Regions from separate parts of the Homo sapiens genome. Here region 2 is linked to region 1. The links are contacts of gene promoters, found by promoter capture Hi-C in blood cells and fetal thymus (Javierre and others, 2016). All regions are on one chromosome and are shown on one strand. The core of a region is centred on a gene start or on the middle of the fragment in contact, and the rest is flanking DNA. Distances in the headings are between cores, read along the strand shown. Region 1 holds the start of KICS2 (KICSTOR subunit 2). Region 2 overlaps LEMD3 (LEM domain containing 3).

Evidence for each region. Contacts are between HindIII fragments. The CHiCAGO score rates a contact against its expected background, and 5 or more counts as called.
Region 2: a contact is called between a fragment that was not itself captured here and the fragment with the promoter of KICS2 in region 1, in 1 of 17 cell types (naive CD8 T cells). The highest score is 5.4, in naive CD8 T cells.

The regions. Positions count from the first base shown.
Region 1 is chr12:64,219,657-64,226,657 of GRCh38, reverse strand. KICS2 (KICSTOR subunit 2) reads left to right here and starts at 4,362. Exons shown (of 3, transcript NM_152440.5): 1 at 4,362-4,655. The coding sequence starts at 4,421. LOC124902952 (a long non-coding RNA gene) reads right to left here and starts at 4,309. Exons shown (of 2, transcript XR_007063347.1): 1 at 4,115-4,309. RefSeq lists enhancers at 3,909-3,968, 4,049-4,238, 4,389-4,478, 3,960-4,554, 4,589-4,648 and 1 more. The HindIII fragment of the contact is 7,597 bases long and covers 268-7,001 here.
Region 2 is chr12:65,179,531-65,186,531 of GRCh38, reverse strand. The region is part of intron 1 of LEMD3 (LEM domain containing 3); the gene reads right to left. Among named protein-coding and RNA genes, the nearest start is that of LEMD3, 13 kb to the right of the region's middle. The HindIII fragment of the contact is 1,756 bases long and covers 1,968-3,723 here.

The DNA.
Region 1 (7,001 bases), core at 3,113-5,612:
ATAAATAGTGTTGGAAAAACTAGGTATCTAAGGTAGATTACCTGCAAAAGGGTAAAATTATACCCTTACTTTACACCCTCCACAAAAATTATATTGAAATGGGTTAAAGACTTAAATATCAGACCTGAAATTATAAAACTCCTAGAAAAAAATATAAGGGGAAAGCCACTTGCCATTGGTCTTGGCAATGATTTTTCAGATATGCACCCAAAGTATAGGCAACAGAAGCAAAAATAAACAAGTTGGACTACATCAAACTAAAAAGCTTCTGCATAGCAAAGGAAACAATCAACAAAATGAAAGGGTAACCTATGCAATGGGAGAAAATATTTGCAAACCATATATCTGGTAAGGAGTTAATATCCAAAATACGTAAGGAACTCATACAACTCAAGAGCAAGAAAACAAATTGCCCAATTAAAAATTGGGCAAAGGATGCGAATAGACAGTTTTCCAAAGCAGACATAAAAATAGCCAACAGATACATTAAAACAAACTCAACATAACTAATCATCATGAAAATGCAAGTCAAAACCATAAGATATCACCTCACACCTGTTAGAATGGCTATTATCGAAAAAATGGCCAGGCGGGGTGGCTCATGCCTGTAATTCCAGCACTTTGGGAGGCTGAGGTGGGAGGACCGCTTGACACTAAAAGTTTGAGACCAGCCTAAGCAACACAGCAAGACTGTCTCTATTAAAAAAAAAAAAAAAAGGATAAGCAATAACAAGTGTTGCTGAGGGTGTAGAGAAACAGGAACCCTTGTACACTGCTGGTGGGAATATAAATTGATACAGCCATTACAGAAAAATAGTATGGAGGTTCCTCAAAAAATTAAAAATAGAACTATCATACGATCCAGCAATTCCACTTCTGCATTTATATCCAAAGGATTACTCACAATAGTCAAGATACAGAAACAATGTGTCTGTCAATGAGTGAAGAGATAAACAAAATGTAGTAAATACAAGACAATGGAATACTTACCCATAAAAAGTAAGGAAATTCTGACATTTGTGACAACATGGATAAACCTGGAGGATGTTACATTAAGTGAAATAAGCCAGACACAGAAAGACTAATATTCTATGACCTCACTTATATGGCGAATCTAAAAAAGTTGAACTCATAGAAGCAGAGAGTAGAATCATGATTGCCAGGGTCTTGGGGGTGGGGAAAATGGGGAGATGTTTATTGCACATTTATCAGCAATTAAAATGTTTCTTTTGGGAGCTAACCTATGAGAATGCAAAGGCATAAGCATGATATAATGGACTTTGGGGACTCGCAGGGAAGGTTGGGAGAGGGGTGAGAGATAACAGACCACACACTGGGTATAGTGTACACTGCTCAGGTGATAGGTGCACCAAAACTCTCAGAAATCAGTACTACAGAGCTTATTCCTATAGAAACCACCTGTACCCCCAAAACCATTGAAATAAAATTAAACAGTTTCTTTTGCTAGTTTGGTAGATGAAACATAGAATATAGTTTATTTTGCATTTCTTTGATTACTAGTGAGGTTGAGCATTAAAAAAGAATTACTTGAGTTTTATATTTCTTTTGGGACTTATATATTCATGTCCTTTTATTCTTGTTGGTTAGTAAGAGATCTTGATATGTTAAGTACATTAAACCTTTGTCTGACATACATTACAGATATCTTTTTCCCAGGATGTCATTTTTTTTTAATTATTATACTTTAAGTTTCGGGATACATGGGGCAGGTTTGTTACATAGGTATACATGTGCCATGGTGGTTTGCTGCACCCATCAACCCGTCATCTACATTAGGTATTTTATACAGTCAAATCAATCTCATCCTTTTTAAGTTCTTCCAATTCTTTTATATTTAGAAGGTCCTTCTCTATCTTTAGATCAATTAGTCACTTGTATTTTTTCTGGTTTCTGGTTTTGTGTTTTACACTTTTTTTTTCTTCAGGAAACAAGGTGACAGTCTATTTTCCCATGGTTAAGCATATTTCCTTCACTACTAATTGAGTATGTTTCTTCCCCACTAATTTATAATGTCACCTTCATTACCTAAGGAATTCTTATATTATGTGGGTATGTTTATGAGTTTTATAATCTCTTTTATTGTCTATTGGTTTTGGTGATAGTACCACACTTTTTTTTGATTACCTCTATTTATTCATCAAGAATCATCACACTCTCCTCCAGGAAGCCTCCTTAATTCTTCCAAAATGGTATGATTGCTCCCTTCACTCTCTGTCTTTCACCTTTGTCATGTTTAAAAATCTGCCTTGGCCAGGCGCGGTGGCTCACGCCTGCAATCCCAGTACTTTGGGAGGCTGAGGCGGGAGGATCACCTGAGGTCGGGAGTTCCAGACCTGCCTGACCAACATGCAGAAACCCCGTCTCTGCTAAAAATACAAAATTAGCAGGGCGTGGTGGCACATGCCTGTAATCCTAGCTACTCTGGAGGCTGGCCTTAGGCAGGAAAATCACTTGAATCCGGCAGGTGGAGGTTGCAGTGAGCTGAGATGGCTCCACTGCACTCCAGCCTGGGCAACAAGACCAAAACTCTGTCTCAAAAAAAAAAAAAAAAAAAAAATCTTCCTTGAAGCTGGGCGCAGTGGCTCATGCCTGTAATCCCAGCACTTTGGGAGTCCGAGGCGGGCAGACCATTTGAAGTCAGGATTTTAAGACCAGCCTGGCCAACATGGTGTAAACCCCAATTCTGTTAAAAATACGAAAATTAGCCAGGTGTGGTGGCACTGGCCTGTAATCCCAGCTACTCCAGAGGCTGAGGCAGGAGAATCACTAAAGCCTGGAAAGCGGAGGTTGCGGTGAGCCGAGGTCATGCCACTGCACTCCAGCCTGGGGAAAACTCCAGCCTGGGGGAAAGAGTGAGACCCTGTCCAAAAACAAAACAAAATAAAACAACCAAAAAAAAAAAAAACTGCCTTGTATCATTGTTAACAGGGTTGATCTTATCCAATTACATTCTTGAGTATAGGGAACAGGTGCACAATACCTATTCATTAAAATTAGATTAGTGGGATTTCCTTTAAAAGGTAGTGATGATGGCAGAACAGCTCTAGTTTGAGAAAAAACGAAAATAGGCAATTCTCTCATTTGTTCAACAAACATGGCTGCGCCGTCCAATATGAAAAGATTATAACTGTAAGTGAACCCTACTGTACCCTAGGGATCTCACCACTTGGGGAAAGAGATATGTAAATATATGCGATTAAATAGTGTGACTAAGAAGCATAAAATAAGTATGCACAAAGAAGAAAGGAAAAAACTATTGAGTAGTGGGTAGTGTTTCAAAGTAGTGGACATACAAGTATGAGCCGGGTTCATGGGGTTTCTTAAATGCCAAAGGAACTTGTAATTATTCTAAATGACAACGTGCACAATTTACATTAATGTATTCTTCATTCTGGCCAGGGGTGGTGGCTCACACCTGTAATCCCAAAACTTTGGGAGGCTGAGGTGGGAAGATTGCTTGAGCCAGGAGTTTGAGACCAGCCTGGCTAACATGGTGAAACCCTGTTTCTATTAAAAATACGAAAATTAGCCAGGTGTGGTGGCGCTGGCCTGTAATCCCAGCTACTAGGGAGGTTGAGGCAGGAAAATCGTTTGAACTCGGGAGGTGGAGGCTGCAGTGGGCCGAGATCTCACCACTGCACTCCAGTCTGGGCGACAGAGCGAGACTCCGTCTCAAAAAAAAAGAAAAAAAAAAGATAACTTTTTAAGGAAGGTTAATGCAGTTTGGGCCAGGGGCTCTACTTATTAGTTGCAGGGCTAACACAGACCCGGGAGAACTAGAACGGGATACAGGTGAGAGTTAACCGGTGGTGTGTGATGTGATGAAAACTAGGCAATGGGAAGGAGATCAACCTTTACCCGTCAGTCTTCTAATCTCAGCAAATCACTTCCATGAGTTGGTGTAGAAGGTGTCAGGGCTGACTAGGGTCCCTGCTGTGAGTGTGGGCACAACTCCAGGCACTTCCCCATCTCCCAGCCGGCCCAGCGAGGTGCCTGGAGAGCCCAGGCCAGATGTTCTGGCCAGGGCTGACGTCACGTTTGCATGACGTCACCAGCGCTGACGAACCACACAGAGAGGGGCCTGTCAGCTCACCTCAGAGCGCAGGCAACTTCTTAGAGCGGGGAACTGGCCGCCTCCTATTCTACCTTGACGGTCCGAATAGTCAGAGCTACAGGAGCCGAAGCGCCGAAGGAGCTCAGCAACCGCTACCTCCCTCTTTCCTTGGCCCTTATCCGCGTCTTCTCTAAGGCCCAGGAGCGGTCCCGGCAGCGGCGCGCTCACGAGTCCGCCGGTGGAGGCGGTCACGCGCACGCACGCTTGTGCGCAAGCCCGTTCCCTCAGAACCCGGAAGTGCGAGGCCGAGGAGAGCCACGTGGGTCGAGCTGGGGCGCAGCTCGCATGGGGGAGTCTATCCCGCTGGCCGCCCCGGTCCCGGTGGAACAGGCGGTGCTGGAGACGTTCTTCTCTCACCTGGGTATCTTCTCTTACGACAAGGCTAAGGACAATGTGGAGAAGGAACGAGAGGCCAACAAGAGCGCGGGGGGCAGCTGGCTGTCGCTGCTGGCGGCCTTGGCGCACCTGGCCGCGGCCGAGAAGGTCTATCACAGCCTCACCTACCTGGGGCAGAAACTAGGTACCTCCGCCCCGCCCCCCGAGCCCCTTGAGGAGGAAGTAAAGGGGGTATATTCCCCAGTCGGCAGTGGCTTGGGTTTCCCGTCTCTGTGTCACTTCTAGTCGCAGGCTCGACTCGGCATTCCCAGATCTCCTCCCACCGTTCCTTTCCTTCCCTGGGCTTCCACAAGCCCCGCCCACCGGCCTGCGCTGCTGATAGATTGGCGAACTGGGTAGATGCTCTTTGCAGGGCTGTGACCCAAACCGAAGGGTTTGCCCTTTTGCCTCGTGCATGGATTGATGCCATAAATGAGAAGTTAACCAAACTATGTCTTCATTGTTTTAATTAGTGACGCTGCAGCCAGAAGAGCAAAACTTTGCAAAACAACCTAGTTCTATTACTGAACACTGTTGTGTGGCCTCTTAAGGTTAAGGCCCGAGAGTCACATTTAGAGTCCTACCCCGTCTTCATAGTCCCCCAATACATATTTAATGACTAAAGTAATAAATGAATATTGGGCAGGAAAGGCAAGAAATATGCCTAACACTAGCAAGAAGAGACTTAAGGGGAAAATGGTAAACACTCTTAGCACTTCATGTACATCTTGCCTCTGAAATAAGATTCAAGAGCTGATTCAACTGATTTTTACTAGTAGAAGCAATAAGTATAAGTAGATGAGAAGGAAATAATAGATGTAAAAGGCATGGAATATGCATACAAAATAATATTACTGCTTAATTATGACAAATAAATATATTTGAATCCTAGGGGTTTCAGAGTCAGTACTTTGACCTGTTTTAGACTCTTCAATTTTCAGAAGCGTGAGGTCTGATGTGAATGAAGGACACGTATATAAAATACAGAGAATAGAAATGTAAAATTGGTGTAGATTTCATTTTGATCCACCCCCCCCCGTTCCCTAACCAGCCCCCTACTTTCCTTATATTGCCTGAAGGTGACCATGTACATCTTATTGAGCTTTCAGTAAACACTCAAGAGACAGGGCTTCCTGAGTTCGTAATTGCTGTAGCAAGTATGTTGATTTATACATACTTATTTAGTATGCTAATTTATTAGCAAAAACTGGTCAGATAGTTTCACCTTATTTTTTTCCTCCCCTTTTTACAATGGCATTTCTCACAAATTTGCAGTTGCTGCTATGGTGTTATTATTCCCCTTTCTATAGATTAGCAAATTATATATGCAGTTATGTTGGGTAGATGATAGAGTCGAAACCAAAATATCTGCCCTTGTACTCTCAGATTGAGTTTGCATTCATATAACTTATTAAAAATGTGTATGAAAATTATAATTTATGTATAATATATACAGATATATGTTTTTTATATATGTGAAAATGGGGTGGATTCTAGCTGTAATACTGAAGGTAGGTAATATTTAGGCAGTTTCAGTTGTTTTTAGACTCCCCCACCTCAAAGAATGGTGACTGATTCAAGTGCCATGATTCTTTGCTTTTTTTTTTTATTAACTTATCCATGGAAATTTGATGAAAGCTGTGTACTTACTCTCCAGAAAAATATATATGTACATATAATTTTGCGTATAACCTGAGTGGGTTCAGTTGAATTTTCTAAAGTCTATTTATTGACTCCATTTAAAAAAATCTGCTACTCTAGTTTTAAGTTGAATGAGCCAGGTTTTTACGTAAACAGAACTGGCTGCCCTGTGTGTAAGAATGTGTGTATAAGATCTTCACTGTCTCTGACTTGGGTTCTGTAAAGTGGTCCTCAATGTGTAAATTGATTAGTTCTGCTTGAACCCCAGCTGGCATGGGTGAGCATGAGGACTATGCCTTGAAACTGACCTATACAACATTTGGTGCTGTGAAACATGCCCAGGCACTGTTACGTTCCTAGGTGGGCTCCTCATTTCTGAGTAAATATTCTGAAAATGGTATATTTAATGCTTCATAACTTATTTACACGTACAGTAAACATAAGTTCCAGAATTTAAATTTTATCTTTGCACATTTTTTTGGGTACTGGAGTGTATATGATATCAGTGTGCTTACAATACGACTACACAATTACCCGGTTTACTATTTTCTTAAAAACTTCAGGAGAAAACTTTCGTGTTGCCATTTAAAACATTCCCATGTTCTCCAACTACTTTGCTCATTAGAACATTTATATAGTTTTCTTTAGAAAGCAAAACAAAAAGTTTATGCGTGCGTTTAAAAAATTTAAAACAATTCTGAAAAGTTTTTTTAGCCTTACTGAGATATAATTGACAAATAAAACTATATATATTTAAGATGTACAACTTGATGTTTTGATGTATATGTAAATTGTGAAATAATCACCACAATCAAGCTACTTAGTATATCCATCACCTTACATAGTTATC
Region 2 (7,001 bases), core at 1,596-4,095, 960 kb before region 1:
AATCATCCTAGTTTCTCATTTCCTAACCCAAATATTAGAATTTTTTAAAAGGTACTGAATATTTTCAAAGTAAATGAGTAATATTTTTATCCTTTTTCATTCTTGGATAAGATGGCATTAATATAATTTATAGCTATTTTGTATTAAGTTCAACCTTGTACAATTTTTTAAAAATTAAAGAATTTAAGTTGTTAAAATTTAAGTAAAATACAAATTTTGTTTTAAGTAATGCTTGCTCCGCAAGTTATATCATTTAGATGAATAAGTATCTCTTCACAATAAAAAGCAACGGGCAAAATGTAAAAGAAAAAAAAAATCTCTTGAGGCAAGAAATACTAGCTCCAAAGTTTATGACTTAGAATCTCAGGCAAGTTACCCTCTGTGGGACTCTAGTTCCTCATTGTAAAATAGGATGTTTTGTAACTATGCCCAGCAGCATGGAGAGAGATAACCTAATATATCTTAGATAGATTAATAAGTTATCTTTTCCCAATCTCAGCATGAAATAAAAAATAGCACGTTTATAAAATAACACAATATACTGCTACTCCAACCTTCATCTGTCTCTACCATAGAGCTACTGGGATAAAATGACAGTTCTTAGAGAGATAGAAAACTCCAAGGCAAGGCTCCCCAAGTCTTTTATAATGCCTGAATTTTTCACTTACTGCCAAAAATGTTTTACCAATCAAAGATATTAATAGAATCTGAGTTAATCAAGATCTTGTACAATCACCTCTGAGATTAAGGGGTTACCAGCTGGTAAGTCAGTCAGTCATTTCAACACTACAACTGATTCTGTGACATTAAGTATGAATGTCTTGAAAATAAATGCTATATATATTATATATAAAATTTATATATAATTTCCTTGTAACATTCTTTAAGTAATGATTCTCCACTCTTAAAGCAAAAGGACTTCATTTATATCAAGATATTCAGATTCCCCATAACAGTACTTTTGATATCCACTTATATTAAGAAAATATGACCAAATTCTACCATGCATATAATATTTTATATTTTAATCACAGCAGTATTGAAATACCATTGAAAAATAATAGCACAGTATGAAAGGCAAATTATTTATTAGGTCTTCAGACAAACTTTATAATGGGCACAGTTCCCAAAATGTTCTCAGTCCACAGTTGAAAACTACTGCCATAAATTCTAACAGAAAATTGTAGAATTGTAGGCAATCCAGCTACTACACATTTAAGGATAAAGAACAATTTAGAGAGGCAGGGCTAAACTCTGATTCCATATTGGCTCAATCCTCACTAAAGATAATCACATTACCAAATTTTATCATAAAATCATACAATTTTTATGAACAGAGCTCTACAACATTATATTATGAATTCATTCAATCAAATGGCTTACCCTAACATTTAGTTTAAAGTAGATGACTGCCAGACTTGGTGGTGTGTGCCTGTAGACCAGCTGCTCAGGAAACTGAGGTGGGAGGATTACTTGAGCCCAAGGCCCGAGTAATTACTTGAGGCTAGCCTGGGCAACAGAGCAAGACACATCTCTTTCAAAAAGAAAAAAAAAGTATCTGAATTGAGGGAATAGGGGGAGTTGGAACTTAGTAAAGAGAGAAAGGAGAAGAGGATATGTGAAAAAGGAAAACAGTATGTCCAATGGTTAGTGGATGAGCTTTCAAGTCATGTTGCTAAGGTTTTTACCCAACAACGTTAACTCCATAACTCCTCTCCCTGCCCTATAAACTTGGACAAAGTGATTAACCTAATCCTCAGATTCCTCATTAATGATGGAAAACTAGCCCCTACCTCATAAAACTCTTAAAACTAAATGAGATACGAATGAGCATAAAACGTTTATTTGCCAAGCACTCAACAAGTAAACCTATTCCATACAGAAAATTTTGAAGTTATTGAGCACTTAGAAGTTATTGAATCTTTTAAAGTTATTGAGCCAAGATTATAGTAAAAGAGCAGAAAGCTTAGGCCAGTATAAGTTGGAAAACAGAAATTAAAGAGATGAAAAAGTATAAGAGAAAACACTAAAAGCCAAAAATAAACTTACTTTCTCCTCCAACTCCCACAGAACACGATCCAATGCTCTGATTCCCTAAACTTAAACCAACAGTATATTAGTGCTAAAATAGGATGTGGTTTTAAATAGGCTTCTGTGGGCTAGCCCAGGAACTTAAAACCAGTGTAGTAAAACATGCTCCAAGTTCAAACAACTGTTTTACACACAATCTGGAAGACAACGTATTCAAAAATTAGGGACTGCCTGTTTTTCCTTTTGAAATGAAAAAGTTTGTGAGAAAATATTCTCTAGGAATCCAAATGTAATTCAAAGAAATTATTCAAATTAAATAGAACATGCTGCTAAGTATTAATCCACAATATAAAATCCTGTAAAATAACTGAAAAAATATTTACAATTCAAAGAGCATGATGAATAAGAACTTCTCAATTCTTTCTCAGAATGAAGTACTGAAACCCTTAGAAAACTTCTTCATCCAGACAAAAGTTTTACTAGACATTAGTTTTCACTTTTGCCAATAGGAGCTGAGCTTTCCCTTATCTGCCGCCACGGTCCTGTAACAGACTCAAAGAGCCATCTCTCCATTCTACATGTTTAAAGAATTGTAGAAAGCAGTTTAATGAATGGGAAATGAGGAACAAGTATAAAGGAACATTCCCAATCAGGAATATGAGCAAGGACTTAGAAGATACCACTTCCACTCTAAGCTAAGAAGTCCTTTGTGCCTAAAAATAAGGAAAAATTAAATCACAAGTCACTGGCTGAGCAGTGCCAAAACTACACCTCACCCACCTACCTGCCCAAACGCTAGTGGCAGTGCTTTAAAACAGTGCAACAGAAACAAAAAACAGGACAGCGGTTTTAGGGTCAGATTTAGCTTTAAATCCTGCTCCTCTACAGACTACCTGTTTAATCTTAGACAAATTAATATCTCCATACCTCACTGTCTATGTCTAAAATGATAACAAAACTGACATCATAGAGTTATTACAAAGATCTTCTGAAAATATTATAGAGAACACTATACATGGCACATTACAGGCATTGTAATGCTTGACTGTCATTAGGTCTCATTAAACCAATAATATAACTCCATAACTCAGAGCGGTCCAGACTTGCACTACCCAACAGGGTAGTCAACTAGCCAAATGTGGCTACTGAGCACTTGAAATATGGCTAGTCTGAATTGAGATACACCATGAATGCAAAATACATATCGGATTCTAAAGCCTTAATTCAAAAAAGAGCATAAAATATCTATCTCATCAAAAACTTTTATATTGATTATATGTCAAAATAATATTCTAGGTATACCAGATTAAATAAAATCAATTATTAAAATTAATCTCAACTTTTTTATGTTTTAACGTGGCTACTGTGTGGCTTATATTTCTACTGGACGGTTCTGGTCTAAACCATCACTGGTAACAGTTTCAAATGCAAAATGGGATGGAAATTTCATTATGTGCTTCGTATGACTTATCTAAGAGACTGAAGATCCTAATGTACTTTAAATACCTTCTAATTTAAGTACTATTAATATTCACCTATTGCCTATTCATGGGGACACATGTCATCTTCCCACTTTGATAATAACAGTACTCATGGTATCTTACAAACTAGCTGAAGAACGGCATGTGACAAGCCACCTTTCTGTATCAACTGTATGCATTGTCTGTTCTTCACACAGTATTAACAGAAGCTTACTCCAAGACCCATCCTCATTCTTAAAAAATGTTTTTCCGTCTCAAATTCAGTACTACATTTTGGATTAAAGCAATGTAACCCATTTACACTGACTTTCCTATCAGCAAATCTACCTTTTAGTGATCAGCAAGGCTACAATCCAGTTTCAAGTTGTGTCATCACCTGTTTAATATAGCTGCAAAAAAAAACCACATTATTTTTCAGTCCTGGAGATAAGGAAGGCACTAATTATGTAACGTGAAAAGATAACTCCCTTTTATCTGCTCAGACAGCTTGAAAGGTTTAAATACTGATAAGGACTATAAATTTAGCCAACTCTATTACTTATTAACATTACTGACAGGACATGTCATAATGCTGAACATGTGTTGCTTAAACTACTATAGCTGTTAAGTCCTATCTTATAATATTAAAATTACAGTTATATATCACTCCAAATTTCTCCAAAGCATTTCTACAGACATTATCACAGCAGTTCCCTACAAAAATCACTGGCTGGAAGTAAAGTTGATTTTACTATACCCTCATTTAACAGACACAAAAAGCAAGGCCCAGAGGTTGTGTTTATCTTGCTTGCCCAAATAAAGCCTGTAGCTAACGATAAGATAAAGTATAAAAAAATTCTACTGCTGCCTGGTAGTTAATACTGTGAACTCTAAAGTTAGATCTTGGGTTCAAATGCTGGCTCCAACACCTAGTAGCTGTGGGACCTTGGACAAATCACTTGTAACCTTATTCCCTCTATCTTTCCGTTTTCTCACAGACATAGTATGAGTAGTTACCCTCATGAAAATTAAAATAAAATGCTCACACACATTGAAAATTCTCAATAAATGTTTGCTCTTCTCACCTAAGGCTTTAAAATCTGAAAGACGGGACATTTAGAGATGAAATTAAAAAAAAAAAACAAAACACTTCTGTCAAAAGGATAAGAATATTTCTAGAACATCTTGAACCATAATCATAAATGTTCAGATTTTATAACATTTTCATTTTTGGCAAATTCATTCTTCATGTCTCTTCCTTTTTTAAAAATTACTCCTAAAAACCTGCAAAAAATAAAACCTACATTTATTAAAATTGTGTGGTTTTTAAAGGTAGAATTCCCAATTGAGAAAATGGTAATACAGAAAAGGTGAAAGGAATGATCAACACACATTACTTCAATTAGCCAACTATTTCTTTTGTGTATATATACACTGTGATAAGCTTTACCAGATGGTATACTCAAATTTACAGAAACTAATTTTTAAAGTATGTTTCCCAAGTCACAATATATAAATCTGATACACTGTTGCATGGTAACAAAATCCCAATTCTGAAGGCTAGCTAGTGCAGAAATATTTAGGAAAAAGAAGAGAATGCCAGCCAAAGCGTGGGGAGAGTGTCACTCCTATAGTTCTAAAAGGTATGATATATACTTATCTTCTGCCATTACCTGGTACATAGTATAGGTGCTCAATAAATAATCTGGGTGAATGCGTGACTGAATGAATAAATGAGTAGGAGAAACTTAATGTTTCTTCAAATGAACTAAATCAAACAAGAAAGCATTTGTGATCCCATGGGAGATACACTTATAAACTAAGGAAGTCCTTAATAAGGCTGACCAAGGTTCCAAGCCATAGCTCAGAGGCTAGAAGAAGTAGATATCCCAAGATTCCCCTCACCTCCTAATTAATTTCAACAATCCTCTTCATATGCTTTGAAAATTTTACCTTGGTGAATTCCTACAGAGCAAAAGCATCCTTTGTAAGTACAGCATGCTTTCAGGAATTAGCCATAGTCAGAAAATTGTGTGTGTGTGTGTGTGTGTTTGTGTACATACTCAGATATATATGAGCTAACTGAGAAACAAAATTAATTTTCTGCTATGTGCTAAAATATCCATTTGCTACTAAAGGGTTTTTTCTATTCATGTCATATTCAGGGCAGAACAGCAATTGGTGCATACTTACTACCCAATTAGTTCAGGAGAGCTGAACTACACTCTTGCATAGTTTTACAACCAAGCCTTGTTTTTAAACTTTAGCTTGCCATTTGATAGTAACATAGCTGTAAAGATGAATTCAGAAGTCATCTTGCAAAAGCATTTTAAGTAAAAAGCTGTGCAAAAGCACAGAGCAATAAATCTAGCACCCAGGAAAAATTCAGTGGTATAATTTTAAACTATACCTTGACATAAAAGAAAATGAAGACATATGAAAAGTAATTCATGATGGCTTCCATATGATAGATGCATTATTCTATTTTTAGAGATTACCTCTGTTACTATAACTTTTATAACCTTTTTGAAGAGCTAATTTCCTAAGAAATATATTTTTTAAATAATGATATTAAACATGCAAAATAAATTATTAAAACCTAACTTATTTTCTTCCTGGTAAACTCTTGTTTAAAAAAATTTTGGCAATATTGTTAATAAAGAATATTATTAACTATATATATAATATATAATATATAAACTGATGCAGTTTAAAGCATAGATTATTAAAACAGTGAAATCCAAAGGTTACTGCTCAACTATACTGTTACTGGTTCACTTTAAAATCTATGTTAGGGCAGGGCACGGTGGCGCACACCTGTAACCCCAGCACTTTGAGAGGCCGAGGCAGGTGGATTACCTGAGGTCAGGAGTTTAAGACCAGCCTGGCCAACATGGTGAAACCTCATCTCTACTAAAAAATACAAAAATTAGCCGGGCGTGGTGCCATGTGCCTGTAATCCCAGATACTTGGGAGGTGGAGGCAGGAAAATCACTTGAACCTAGGAGATGGAGGCTGCAGTGAGCCGATATTGCACCACTGCACTCCAGCCTGGGCGAGAGAACAAGATCCTGTCTCCAAAAAAATAAAAAATAAATAAAATCTATGTTAAAAATAAATCTAAATATGAAAATCAAAATCCAAAGTTATAAGCAAATAACTGTTATAACAATTTCCACAATTAGTATTAAGCTATGTTCCCATATTAAATGGCAGCAATTTTTAATGTATAATCAATACAAGATTAAAATACATCTTTTTTAAAATGTTATTTTAAGTTCTGGGATACATGTGCAGGATGTGCAGGTTTGTTACATAGGTAAACGCGTGCCATGGCAGTTTGCTGCACCTATCAACCCATCACCTAGGTATTAAGCCCAGCATGCATTAGCTATTTTTCCTGATATTCTCCCCACCCCTAGAATATATCTTCATTCGAATTTAGATTATATCATTAGTAATAAAATTTTCACAAACAAGTTAGTAGTACTTATTTATTAACAAATACAT